Linked DNA regions of Homo sapiens: regions 2, 3, 4 and 5 are each linked to region 1. The links are contacts of gene promoters, found by promoter capture Hi-C in blood cells and fetal thymus (Javierre and others, 2016). All regions are on one chromosome and are shown on one strand. Each heading gives the region's core, a stretch centred on a gene start or on the middle of the fragment in contact. The rest is flanking DNA. Distances are from core to core; before and after follow the strand shown.

The links. Contacts are between HindIII fragments. The CHiCAGO score rates a contact against its expected background, and 5 or more counts as called.
Region 2: a contact is called between a fragment that was not itself captured here and the fragment with the promoter of RRM1 in region 1, in 1 of 17 cell types (naive CD8 T cells). The highest score is 5.5, in naive CD8 T cells.
Region 3: a contact is called between a fragment that was not itself captured here and the fragment with the promoter of RRM1 in region 1, in 4 of 17 cell types (M0 macrophages, total B cells, total CD4 T cells and 1 more). The highest score is 7.8, in M0 macrophages.
Region 4: a fragment that was not itself captured here is called in contact with the fragment with the promoter of RRM1 in region 1 in 2 of 17 cell types (non-activated CD4 T cells and total CD8 T cells); the score reaches 6.7 in non-activated CD4 T cells.
Region 5: a contact is called between a fragment that was not itself captured here and the fragment with the promoter of RRM1 in region 1, in 3 of 17 cell types (M0 macrophages, M2 macrophages and naive CD8 T cells). The highest score is 5.7, in M0 macrophages.

Annotation. Positions count from the first base shown.
Region 1 is chr11:4,093,488-4,096,150 of GRCh38, reverse strand. It overlaps RRM1 (ribonucleotide reductase catalytic subunit M1), which reads right to left and starts at 1,352. Exons shown (of 19, transcript NM_001033.5): 1 at 1,120-1,352. The coding sequence starts at 1,138. RefSeq lists enhancers at 1,123-1,592, 1,653-1,722. The HindIII fragment of the contact is 7,950 bases long and covers 1-2,057 here.
Region 2 is chr11:6,613,250-6,615,749 of GRCh38, reverse strand. TPP1 (tripeptidyl peptidase 1) reads left to right here. Exons shown (of 13, transcript NM_000391.4): 10 at 188-308; 11 at 421-579; 12 at 759-884; 13 at 1,064-2,500. The coding sequence ends at 1,204. Among named protein-coding and RNA genes, the nearest start is that of TAF10, 2.3 kb to the right of the region's middle. The HindIII fragment of the contact is 2,784 bases long and covers 1-2,500 here.
Region 3 is chr11:6,478,435-6,481,097 of GRCh38, reverse strand. ARFIP2 (ARF interacting protein 2) reads left to right here. Exons shown (of 8, transcript NM_001376558.2): 2 at 635-775; 3 at 1,030-1,126; 4 at 1,840-1,958; 5 at 2,139-2,360. The coding sequence starts at 677. Among named protein-coding and RNA genes, the nearest start is that of ARFIP2, 1.6 kb to the left of the region's middle. RefSeq lists enhancers at 19-138, 1-174. The HindIII fragment of the contact is 226 bases long and covers 1,211-1,436 here.
Region 4 is chr11:6,400,654-6,403,316 of GRCh38, reverse strand. It overlaps APBB1 (amyloid beta precursor protein binding family B member 1), which reads left to right. Exons shown (of 15, transcript NM_001164.5): 6 at 109-172; 7 at 592-741; 8 at 1,108-1,235; 9 at 1,335-1,340; 10 at 1,629-1,743; 11 at 1,888-1,972; 12 at 2,245-2,328. Among named protein-coding and RNA genes, the nearest start is that of SMPD1, 12 kb to the right of the region's middle. The HindIII fragment of the contact is 2,462 bases long and covers 142-2,603 here.
Region 5 is chr11:6,236,027-6,238,689 of GRCh38, reverse strand. It overlaps a transcript of CNGA4 not described here. Among named protein-coding and RNA genes, the nearest start is that of CNGA4, 1.7 kb to the left of the region's middle. The HindIII fragment of the contact is 962 bases long and covers 812-1,773 here.

The DNA of each region.
Region 1 (2,663 bases), core at 103-2,602:
GAGAGGCTGAGGCAAGAGCATCGCTTGAGCCCAGGACTTCAAGGTTACAGTAAGCTATGATTACACCACTGCATTCCATCCTGGGTGACAGAGCAAGACTCTGTCTCAAACAAGTCTCCATCTTTGAAATGTTCACAGCCTAGAGGACAAAATAGAAACAACCAGTCGATTAACCAGTATTTACTAAGTGCCTACAATTTTGAAATCATTGTATTGCTTTAACAAAGGCAAGTAGGTTCAACTCAAAACTTGTTCATACGTATCTCATGCGGTTGTTAAAAGTATGTTGCTCTTGTTTTTCCAACCCGATGAAGCCTGTTCCCAAGGCAGGGACTGTCTCCTCCTACAATCTCACAAAGCCAAGCAAAGGGCTGGGCACAAAGCGGGCACTTGGCAAGTCTAATGAAAAAGAACTGTTGAGAAAGAATACGAGTTCCTGACTCTTCCCAGTCCCCATCTTGTCAGAAGATGTCTCAGCCACCCTTCTCTGATTCAGCATCTCTTCCCATGAAGGGAAAGGAACTCGAGGGTGCTGTCTGTCTGGGATCTGTTTTTTCCACGCCACACTCCTATCCTCACCCCACAAAAGAGATCAGTAAACTGACAAGTGCCTACGGAGGGTAGAGAGGCCCCCTCCTTCTTTCCTAGCTGCCCCCCGACCCTGTGCCTAAGACAGCTCACCAACCCCACGGTTTTCAAATCAAACCGTATTGTCACCTATGGGTGACTTTGGGTCAGTCGGCGACACCTCGCTCTGAGCGTCAGTTTCCTCATCTGTAATAAGCTAATCATCTCTCAGAGGCTTGCAGGGAGGAATAAAATAGTGCCTGGCAAGTGCTCGGCGTACGCAGTCACTACTCGATACGGGGTAAGTGTTATCCTTTTGAAAGGCGGCAGGATGACAAAGCCGAGGGGGCGCAGCCTGAAGGCCCGAAGGAGGTTCGGGGCAGGCTGACTGAAGACAGAAGGCCGAGCGGGCTGACAGGGCGGAAGGCCGCGGCGGGAAATGCGGGAAAGGCGGGAAGCAGCGAAGGCGGGCGGGCGGTCTGGGCATCAGCTCCGGCGGCGGCAGCCCGCATCCCCTCACCTTCCTTCTCGCCCACCTCGTCCCCCCCTCACCTCGCTTGATCACATGCATCGCAGCTAGTGGCTGAGGCTCTGAAGGATCCAAGACTGGACTGCGGCTCTAAAGCGCCGGCGGGATCGAGAAGGTGACAGAGTGGGAAGGGTTAGGTTCCAGGCGCTGCTCAGGGGAAAGAACTGGAGTTGGAGCCAGACAGCACTTTCTTCAGAGCAGAGGCGCAACAATCCAAATCCCCTTCCCGCGCCCGCCACCCGTGACGCACAAAGGGGCGCGACGGGGTTCGAATGACGTTACTCGACGCTGCGGCCCACGCCCGGGGTAGGCTTCACAGACTGACAGGCGACGTGTAGCCGCCATGTTGAGTCTGGGCAAGACCCAGAAGACTACGCCTCTCCCATGGGCCCCATTGGATATGGACATGCCCGGCGGAAATGCTGCTCTCCTGCTACCATGTTTTGTGTGGGCAAGCCGAGTTCGGGACCCTCGGGGCCCTGGCGTAGCACCTAGAGCCCGCTGGGTCAGGCGCCGCCCTCTCACCTGCGCGTCTCCGCCGGAGGAAAGGCGGTTAATTTATTTTTGAAATAACAAAACCTAACCGGCGGGAACGTTTTTCTTGCTCTGACATTTATTATAATAATACTAACACTGCCGTCCGCTGTGGGCTCCAGCCCAGGCTCCACAGCCGTGGGCAGCTTGGAGCCCCAGGGCTTTTAGATCGGCCAGAGGACTGACACTCTGGAACTGGAAGAAAACCGCGCAAGGCCGATGGCGTTTGGATTTTATCCTGACGCAAATCAGAGCCCTGAGAGAATTTTAAGCAGGGCAGGGTCAGTACCCATTTGCTTTTAGGGTTCTTCAGTGGATGGTGGCAGAGACAGGGTATTTGCCTTGTGGAGGTAGGATGGACTTGGTGACTTAGAGTGGAGAATAAGAATAGATGAGAACCGTAATATGTAAGGCTGGTGTAGAAGCTTCTGATTTGGGCTACCCAAAGCGATCTTTATGAAATTTCATCTGTGGCATCTTTTCCCTAAAGCCTTTTCGTTGGTTTCTCACTGCCCTCCAGAAGCTGCCCAGGCTCCCTGTGAAGTAATTTCAAAAATCATGGAAAGTCGTAAGTGAGCCTGTAATTGCAGCATTTTGGGAGGCTAAGGCGGGAGCATCATGTGAGGCCAGGTGTTGAGATAAGCCTGGGCAACATAGTGAGACCCCATTTCTACAAAAAATAGAAAAAGTAGGCCAGCGCGGTGCTTCACTCCTGTAATCCCAGCACTATGGGAGGCCAAGGCGGGCAGATCACGAGGTCAGGAGTTCGAGACCAGCCTAACCAACGTGGTGAAACCCCCCCGCTGCTAAAAATACAAAAAGTAGCCAGGCATGGTAGCACGCGCCTGTAATCCCAGCTACTCAGGAGGCTGAGGCAGAAGAATCGCTTGAACGCTGGAGGCAGAGGTTGCAGTGAGCCAAGATCGCGCCATTGCACCCTAGCCTAGGCAAGAGAGTGAGACGCCGTCTCAAAAAAAACAAAAAAAAAGAAAGAAAAATTAAATAGATATGTTTTTTAAAAGTCGTAAGTGAA
Region 2 (2,500 bases), core at 1-2,500, 2.5 Mb before region 1:
AGAAAAGTGTGCACAGTCACCTCGGGCCATGCCTTGAAGGCTCAAAATCTCTTAGTCAATCCCATATACATGCTTCCCCACAGAGTCTAGTTCCTCCAGCAAGACCTGGGCTATACTCACCCCTCCCCACATATCTTGGAGGTCCCCTTGGGTCCCCTACTATCCAAATGCTGTCTTCTCCCCTCAGCCCCTATGTCACCACAGTGGGAGGCACATCCTTCCAGGAACCTTTCCTCATCACAAATGAAATTGTTGACTATATCAGTGGTGGTGGCTTCAGCAATGTGTTCCCACGGCCTTCATACCAGGTACGTGTGTTTGTGTGGATGGATGCAGGGTAAGAGTGAGGATGGGGGATCCTCAGTTCAGCTGACTGCTGGGCAGGCCACATGCCAATACTCACTCAAAAATGCCTTTCAGGAGGAAGCTGTAACGAAGTTCCTGAGCTCTAGCCCCCACCTGCCACCATCCAGTTACTTCAATGCCAGTGGCCGTGCCTACCCAGATGTGGCTGCACTTTCTGATGGCTACTGGGTGGTCAGCAACAGAGTGCCCATTCCATGGGTGTCCGGAACCTCGGTGAGAATCAGCCCATCTCCAAACTCTCACTCAGGAACTACCCTTACCCCCTAACACCTTGAACACCTTGCACCTAGAACCCCTGACTCCTTAGAGATGTCTGATACTTTAAAGCATCACTCCCAAAAAGTCCAATCACTCAGAACCCCTGACCTCTACTTGCACCTTCACTCTTGTAGGCCTCTACTCCAGTGTTTGGGGGGATCCTATCCTTGATCAATGAGCACAGGATCCTTAGTGGCCGCCCCCCTCTTGGCTTTCTCAACCCAAGGCTCTACCAGCAGCATGGGGCAGGACTCTTTGATGTAAGTATGGAAGGGAAGGGTGTGGACGTTTTCAAACAACTATGGGGAGTGCTAAGGGGGACTTGGGGGCAGTTAGGGTGGTGTGGAATAGCCTTTGAAATGTGAGTACAGGGTGAGGAGATATACTCTTTAAGTACTGGTACTAGTAGGCCCAGATCTGATGCCAGCCTCCTCCCTAGGTAACCCGTGGCTGCCATGAGTCCTGTCTGGATGAAGAGGTAGAGGGCCAGGGTTTCTGCTCTGGTCCTGGCTGGGATCCTGTAACAGGCTGGGGAACACCCAACTTCCCAGCTTTGCTGAAGACTCTACTCAACCCCTGACCCTTTCCTATCAGGAGAGATGGCTTGTCCCCTGCCCTGAAGCTGGCAGTTCAGTCCCTTATTCTGCCCTGTTGGAAGCCCTGCTGAACCCTCAACTATTGACTGCTGCAGACAGCTTATCTCCCTAACCCTGAAATGCTGTGAGCTTGACTTGACTCCCAACCCTACCATGCTCCATCATACTCAGGTCTCCCTACTCCTGCCTTAGATTCCTCAATAAGATGCTGTAACTAGCATTTTTTGAATGCCTCTCCCTCCGCATCTCATCTTTCTCTTTTCAATCAGGCTTTTCCAAAGGGTTGTATACAGACTCTGTGCACTATTTCACTTGATATTCATTCCCCAATTCACTGCAAGGAGACCTCTACTGTCACCGTTTACTCTTTCCTACCCTGACATCCAGAAACAATGGCCTCCAGTGCATACTTCTCAATCTTTGCTTTATGGCCTTTCCATCATAGTTGCCCACTCCCTCTCCTTACTTAGCTTCCAGGTCTTAACTTCTCTGACTACTCTTGTCTTCCTCTCTCATCAATTTCTGCTTCTTCATGGAATGCTGACCTTCATTGCTCCATTTGTAGATTTTTGCTCTTCTCAGTTTACTCATTGTCCCCTGGAACAAATCACTGACATCTACAACCATTACCATCTCACTAAATAAGACTTTCTATCCAATAATGATTGATACCTCAAATGTAAGATGCGTGATACTCAACATTTCATCGTCCACCTTCCCAACCCCAAACAATTCCATCTCGTTTCTTCTTGGTAAATGATGCTATGCTTTTTCCAACCAAGCCAGAAACCTGTGTCATCTTTTCACCCCACCTTCAATCAACAAGTCCTCAATCAACAAGTCCTACTGACTGCACATCTTAAATATATCTTTATCAGTCCACAAGTCCTTCCAATTATATTTCCCAAGTATATCTAGAACTTATCCACTTATATCCCCACTGCTACTACCTTAGTTTAGGGCTATATTCTCTTGAAAAAAAGTGTCCTTACTTCCTGCCAATCCCCAAGTCATCTTCCAGAGTAAAATGCAAATCCCATCAGGCCACTTGGATGAAAACCCTTCAAGGATTACTGGATAGAATTCAGGCTTTCCCCTCCAGCCCCCAATCATAGCTCACAAACCTTCCTTGCTATTTGTTCTTAAGTAAAAAATCATTTTTCCTCCTCCCTCCCCAAACCCCAAGGAACTCTCACTCTTGCTCAAGCTGTTCCGTCCCCTTACCACCCCTGATACAACTGCCAGGTTAATTTCCAGAATTCTTGCAAGACTCAGTTCAG
Region 3 (2,663 bases), core at 74-2,573, 2.4 Mb before region 1:
ACACCTGGGAGACATAACTGACTGTGGAAGGGTCACCGATATCCTGGGAGAGAGAGGCTTTTACCAGAGACTGGGAACATACACCCACTGATCTAACTAAGGCCTGGTGGGGAGGGCCCGAGGAAGACGAGGTGTATGAGACGGAGGAGGGGAGACCCCCTGAAGGAAGGGGGAAGAAACGCTAAAGGAATGTGAAAGGCCAAGCAATGGAGAACAAACCTGAATAGGGGGGTGAAGACCTGAGCCCTGGAAAGGGTTCATCTCCTCAGCATAAACACGCCTGCATGGAGATAAGTTCTAAGAGAGCAGACTTTCCCTCTTCACTGTTGTATTTTCATTGTCACAAATAGTGCCTGACACATAGTAGGCACTCACTAAATGTCTGCTGAATGAGTGTAGAAATAATCACCAGAGTCCTGGTGAGGTTGGGGGCTTGTGAGAAGACACCGTGCTTTGGTGTGCCTGTTTCAAATGTGCGTTTTGGAGGGGAGAAATACATATATCTGAAGAAAGGAATGATGGCCAAACGCTGGGACACTCAAACCCTGGGACAGCCTTTAAAGAAATGACAGAGGAGGCCTCCTTCTTCTAGAGTGCTGGCCAGTGTCCAGAACTTCTGTGTTGGGCTTTGCAGGGTGCTGGGGTGGAGAGTTTTACTCCAATACCTTTCCTAGCCATGACGGACGGGATCCTAGGGAAGGCAGCCACAATGGAGATCCCTATCCACGGGAACGGCGAAGCCAGGCAGCTTCCTGAAGATGATGGGCTGGAGCAGGTGCTTCTGTTTGATTCTTCTAATTGTTTCAATTTAGGAATCCAATTTATAAATCCTAGGTTCTCACCCTCCATTCCAGTAGCCTTCCCCTGACTTATCTGACTCCCTTCATTCTTTTTACGTATCATTTTGATTCTGTGCAGACTTCCCTTGTGTACTATCTTTATGATGCTTGAATCCAAACTTGTTCCCACCTCCAAAATGCTTCTGCAGCCCCTATGTTCCTGAAGCAACCCCTCTTCTCTGGCCTATAGGACCTCCAGCAGGTGATGGTGTCAGGACCCAACCTCAATGAAACCAGCATTGTGTCTGGTGGCTATGGGGGCTCTGGTGATGGACTCATCCCCACAGGTATGAATGTTCAGAAACAGGAATCTTGGGTGGAGGAGGGGACAGGAATGGTTTGGGGAAGCATAGGATATGTCTAGGAAAGCTTGAATTATGTCTGGAGATCTTGGGAACTTCTGCTTGTAGGAACCTCATGGACTCTCCTCAGCCCAAAAGCAACTCCCAGCGTTGTCCATCCATTTCCCTTTTGCCACTTAGCCCCTGAAATGGCTCATTTGTCCTTTCCCTGCCACCACCTGAGTCAAGTTAAGACCTGCTTCACAGGAATGCCCCCCCTCTACAGCTTGAGGCTGAGTTGGAACTTTGTGAAGCTTCTCAGAATTTTTAGATTCTAAAGTTTAGAGGAACAAACAGCCCTGAATCTCACACTAAGATTCCACATGGGAATGCAACCAGGTTTCTTGTTATCATGACCCACCATCCTTGACTCCTGCTGCCCCCAAACTCAGTGTATTTTCTTCTGTTTCCTCTGCCCCTGTACACCAACAACTCCCTGCAAACCCCTCCTCTAACCCCCAAGGAGGCCATATGTATATCAGGATTTGGTTCTCACCGCGCAAAGTCCGAGTTCCTCCTAGTAAGCAGGAGCATCCAGTTGTCTCTAGCATCTCCTTCAGGGAAGTCAATTTCATGTGCTCGAAGAGAAGTATGGGTGGGGCCACAGAGGTGTCTGGTGTATCTGAGAGAGGCTGGTGTCAGAGAACTTGATCCTTTAGGGTCTGGCCGCCATCCATCTCACAGCACCACTCCTTCTGGCCCTGGAGATGAGGTGGCTCGGGGCATTGCTGGAGAAAAGTTTGACATCGTCAAGAAATGGGGCATCAACACCTATAAGGTAGGATTTAAGCACCTCTCCCTTCCCCAAAACTCCTTATGGGTACCTTTTTCCCTTTTCTTCGTGATCGTAATATCCCATCTGTGGCTGAGAGTAGGAGCCTGGGGGGTGCTGGGGTAGATACCTGTTGTGTGGGGAGGCTGTTAGGGTCTCTGATTTATTCCCCCATTTCCCAATCAGTGCACAAAGCAACTGTTATCAGAACGATTTGGTCGAGGCTCACGGACTGTGGACCTGGAGCTAGAGCTGCAGATTGAGTTGCTGCGTGAGACGAAGCGCAAGTATGAGAGTGTCCTGCAGCTGGGCCGGGCACTGACAGCCCACCTCTACAGCCTGCTGCAGACCCAGCATGCACTGGGTGATGCCTTTGCTGACCTCAGCCAGAAGTCCCCAGAGCTTCAGGTGCCTCACCCAGACCAAAGAGGGTGGGGGAACTGGGCATGGGCCCTCCCAGGCAGTCATTCCTCATCCTCCCTCCCTCCTGCAGCCCACAGGGAGAACCCCTTCAGGGTGGGCCCAGCCCTACCCCCAGCAGCACTCACCTGTGGAGGCAGCCTAAGGGTTTGTACAGAGGTCCAGAAGTTGGAGGGGGTGGGGGAGGGGGCACACTAGGTGCCTCACAAATAACCCCTCTCTGCACTGGGGAGAATGCCTTCGTGCTCAGCCTAATCAGAGCCCCTCCCCTGCTTGCCACACTAGCTCTCA
Region 4 (2,663 bases), core at 123-2,622, 2.3 Mb before region 1:
GAGCTGCCAGATGCAGTGAGCTGGCAGTGGGATGGATCTGTCTGGAAGGGGCCTTGGGACAGCTCCATTTATGGGAGCCCTGTGCCAAGTATTACCATCTGCCTTCAGCCCAGAGCCGTTGCCCCAAGAGGAGGAGAAGCTTCCCCCACGGAATACCAACCCAGGGATCAAGGTTTGTTCAAGACTGACACCCATTCTGAGTCTGGGGCCCTCTTATTTGTCAGACAGCCCCTAATGTTGTGCTCTGAGGGGTCTCAGCGCAGTTCCCCAGGTCCTGAGTTAGGAGTTCTTCCAGTCTCAGCACAGAGCCCTGTGTCTGAGCTGGAGGCACTTCAGTTTTTAAATCAACCAGCCCAACAGCCAGGTTGGGGGCCCTTGTAGTCTTAGTTCAGGTGCTTTTTTGTACTAGCTGGGGTCTCATCTGACATCTCCCTCACCCTAACCACATCCCCCTCTCCCTAACCACATCCTGTTTGGGGAGCTTCTCCGTCTTAGTTCAGAACACCCTGCCTCCTGCCACACTCTGTAGTCAGGAACTCTCCAGTTTTGACTCAGATCCTCTACCTCCTGCCCCTCTTCTGTGTCTGGCAGTGTTTCGCCGTGCGCTCCCTAGGCTGGGTAGAGATGACCGAGGAGGAGCTGGCCCCTGGACGCAGCAGTGTGGCAGTCAACAATTGCATCCGTCAGCTCTCTTACCACAAAAACAACCTGCATGACCCCATGTCTGGGGGCTGGGGGGAAGTAAGGACCTGAGCCGGGGGTAGGGGGTGGTACTGTGAGAGTGTGAAGGGAATTATGAGAGATGGGAGGTCTGACCTGCCCACAAGCAGGCTGGGGAAGGGGGATATTGGCCCATCCTAAGTGGCAGCCCTGTGGGATGGATGAGCGACCCCAGGCCAGGACCTTGGGAGATAGTCGCCTAACAACGGTGGAGTCAATGTGAGAGATGACACGTGACCTCCACTAGAGTGAGGCCTGCAGGGCGGGCGGTCTGACACCAAAGCAGGGGCCCCAGAGCTGTGGCTAACATCCCCTGAGCTGCAGGGGTCAGAGATCAGCCACCATCCTGGCTGGAGTCCCACTGAGTGCCTGCTTCTGGTCCTGCAGGGAAAGGATCTGCTACTGCAGCTGGAGGATGAGACACTAAAGCTAGTGGAGCCACAGAGCCAGGCACTGCTGCACGCCCAACCCATCATCAGCATCCGCGTGTGGGGCGTCGGGCGGGACAGTGGAAGGTGGGAATAGGGCTTGGGATTCGAGGGTGGGAGTTCATCCAGCATCAGAGTCCTCCTCTCTAACTCTGTTATTTGCCTCTCTTGTGCTGCTGGACCCAGAGAGAGGTACTATGCCTATTTTCCCCCTCCTACACCTGGACCAGATGCCTGGAAGCACCCAAGCTCCCCTCTTCTGCCCTGCCCCTTCCCACCCGCTATGCTCCACCATTACCCTCCACCTCAGCATGCTTGCCTGTCTACCCCTCCCCCCCAAGAAGGCAGCACCTATGGGGGACCAGCTGTGGGCAGAAGCCCTGGAGGAGCTGTGATGGGCAGGGAGGACGTGGGTGGGGTGGGGACCAGGCTCAGCACTGGATGGTACTGGGAGACACTGAGGTGCCCCTTCCCCAACAGGGACTTTGCCTACGTAGCTCGTGATAAGCTGACCCAGATGCTCAAGTGCCACGTGTTTCGCTGTGAGGCACCTGCCAAGAACATCGCCACCAGCCTGCATGAGATCTGCTCTAAGGCACGGCCCCCTCCACTCCCTGGACTAGTTGCCACCTTTGCTCTACAAGGGTGTGGGTGGGGTCACTGAGTGCTGTAGGGGGGCCCCAGGGCAATGAGGCTCTAATAGATTCTCCCTGGCTCCTCGCCTCCCTTCCTTCCTCAGATCATGGCCGAACGGCGTAATGCCCGCTGCTTGGTAAATGGACTCTCCCTGGACCACTCTAAACTTGTGGATGTCCCTTTCCAAGGTCAGTGTCAAAACCCCTCCAGGTCCAGCTCAGCTTTGTTGGCAAAGGTGGGTGACCCAAGGAAAGGCATGAGCTCCTGGACAGCGCTGATAGAAAAATGAACACATGAAGACTGAATACTCCAATACGTGGAGGGACTCCGGTTAAAGGGAGGCAGGGGACGAGATGAAAGTAGGGCCTCGGCTGGGCAAGTGTCCAGCTTATGCCCTGCTGGTGGGGCTGCGGGTGAGCAAGGTCTGCCACCATGATCAACCTTCTCTTCTTTCCCATAGTGGAATTCCCAGCGCCTAAGAATGAGTTGGTCCAGAAGTTCCAAGTCTATTACCTGGGGAATGTACCTGTTGCTAAACCTGTTGGTATGTGTGTCCTTCTATACCCAGGGGCTGCTACCTTGATCCTAAAACTCTGCCCCTACCCTCTGCCTTCCAATACTTCTTCTACCAGACCTTCCTCATGCTTGGTGTCTCCCTACCCTTTAAAATGCATCCCACCTCCCCATACTTCTGTCCTAGCTCTATTTCCTGTCCTGCCTATAGCAGCAGTCAGCACGCCTTCGCTGAGCATCAGCCACGTGAGTGGTGCTGAACCAGGCACAAAGGGAGACCCCACTCCTTCATCCCATGGAAAAGCTTTGGTGGGATTGGGAGGCTGATGTTAGATGACTGGAGGACACCAGACAGCAGCCTGTAGC
Region 5 (2,663 bases), core at 43-2,542, 2.1 Mb before region 1:
CCTCTCACATGAGAAGTGAGCTCTATTTTTGTAACCTACTTCCTACCCTTATCTACCTCCACATACGCCTTCCCCCATCACACCATTCTCATAGGTAGTGTGATAGGGGCCATCCTATGGTGCTTTTGTCCTCATATCCTTCTTGTGACTTCTAGTGCCTGATCCTACCAACCATTCCATGTGTTTTATGGTCCCCAATCTTTCAACTTTTCTCTTTTTGTGAACCTGCTTCAATATCTCCTATATCAAAACAAACAAAAACCCTACAATTTCTCCCTCAACCTGATGTTCCTTTCACTGCTATCATCTTTCTCAGTCAACAAATCAAAATCAGAACACCCATAGGCAGGTGTTCTGTGTGCCAGGCCAATATTGTGCTAAATACTAGGAATTGGAGATGAATAAGACACGCTCCCCCTTCTCCAGAAGCTCACAGTCTGCTAGGTGAAATAGTCAGGCCAGCAGGTAATTACACATGAGGTAACTAAACAGCAGCAGTCATTGCCAGGCTGCTGATGAGTACTCTGTTAGCTGGATACACGGAAGGCTATTATAGTACACATGAAGTGGCCCTACAGAGCCTGGGTTCTGCAGGATGAATAGGAGTTGGGTACAGAGATGGGAGGGTGAAGAGCACTAGAGGCAGAATGCACAGAGTGGGCAAAGGCATAGAGATATCAAAAAGCGTGGGTGACTGGGCAAATATCAATTGGCTTATTTTAGAGGGCCTAGCGGGTAGTGGTGAGAGATGAGGTTGAATGATAGACAGAGGCCAGCTCAGGAGGAGTTCTGTCAGCCATGTTATAAAGCTTGGATTTTACCCAACGGCAATAGAGAACCTGTGAAGAGTTTTTCACAGTTCAGTGATAAAATCAGGTTTGTGTTTTTGGAGTGTGTTTTAGAAGAAAAACCTGTGGTCCCTAATTAAATTTTGAAAAACTCTCTTTTCCCATGGCTTCTTAATTTCTTTTTGCAAAGTATTACGCTTGTTAAAATAAAAAGACAACATTCAAAGTAATGCAACAAAATGAATAAAATCCTTTGTAATGCCATAATGTCTTGGTTTGCTGTTTCTTTTTAGTGTCTTTCATAAGCTCCTCTGTCTATTCCTTCTATGATGGTGTTTTTTTTTTTTCTTGGATTCTGTTCTAGGCTTTCTACTTTTGCCATCCTCCTAACTCTGTCTGATTGACGTCAGTCACCCACAGGACTTCCTTTCTCATATAGTGGCTCCCGAGAACTCTCCCTGAGTTTCAGTTATCTATATGACTAACTGCTCACTGGATGTTCCTACTTGGGTATCCCGCGGTCACCTTCAACCCATTGGGTCTATAACTAAGCTCATTATCTTCCTCCACTTTTTCTTCTAGAATTCCTATCTATGCCCTTTCAGCAAAAAAACCTATGACAAGCATTTATTACTATTTACTGTATAATGTTGTGGCAGTTAAAAAAAATGGTCACAAATTCTTCGACACCACTCCCTTGTGATAGTTTGTATAGCAGGAGTGATGTTGTGTGACTTCTAAGGCTAGATCATAAAAGGCCATGCAGCTTCCCTCTGGTTCTCTTGGAATGCGTGTTGTCTGGTAGCTCCCTCTCAGAATGTTCCCTCTTGGAACCTACCCATCACATTGTGAGAAGTTCTGTTTGACAGTTTGCCCAATGAGTTCAGCTTTTTCATTATCCCAGCCCAGGAATTAGATGTGTGACTGAAGAAGCCTCCAGATGCTTCCAGCCACCAGCCTCAAACCACCTCTAGATGTTCAAGCTTTACAAATAAGGCCCCAGACATCATGGAATAGAGACAAGCCATTCCTGTTGCATCTCGTCCAAATTCCCAGAATTTGTGCACATAATAAAATGGCTATTGTTTTTATGACACTAAGTTTGGGTTGGTTTGTCACATAGCATAGTAACCAGAACAAACAAACACAGAGAAAGGTGTACAATCCTTAAGTATATAGCTTAATACATTTTCACAAAGTGAACACACCCATATAACCAAGCACTCAGATCAAGAAACAGAACATCACCAGTGCCTCAGGAGCCCCACTCTGCCCCTTTCAGTCAATGTTTTTCCAAGAATAATCACTATCCTGAATTCTAATATCACAGTTTAGTTTTACCTGTTTTTGAATTTATATAAACTAAGCATTAGTTTTTAATTCTTCCTCTTATTTTCCTCTTATATCCACCCAATCATCAAACCATGGTGATCTACCTTCTAAAAATCCACATGTCCACTTCTCTGCATTTTTGCTACTCTAGTTTGGGCCTTATCAGCTTGTTTGGTCTTTTGCAAAGTTACTGTATAACTATCAATCTATGTATAAAATTCTTTATAGCTATCATCCCAAAAATAAAATCTAAATTCCTTAACATGGTTTATAAAGTTCTCCAGTCCATGTCTTCAGCCTCATCTCACAATGTTTCCTCACATGTTCCCTAGGCTCCCGACACACTGTACTGATTGCAGTTCTTACAGCACCTCCCACATGCTGTCCATTCTTCCTTTCCCTGGTATATGCTGATCCTTTGGTCTGAAACTTCTATTTCTTTTTAAATACTTTTTATTTGAACTAATTTTAGGCTTACAGAAAAGTTGCAAAAATAATACAGAGTTCTCATAAATTCCTTATCCATCTTCCCCTAACGTTATG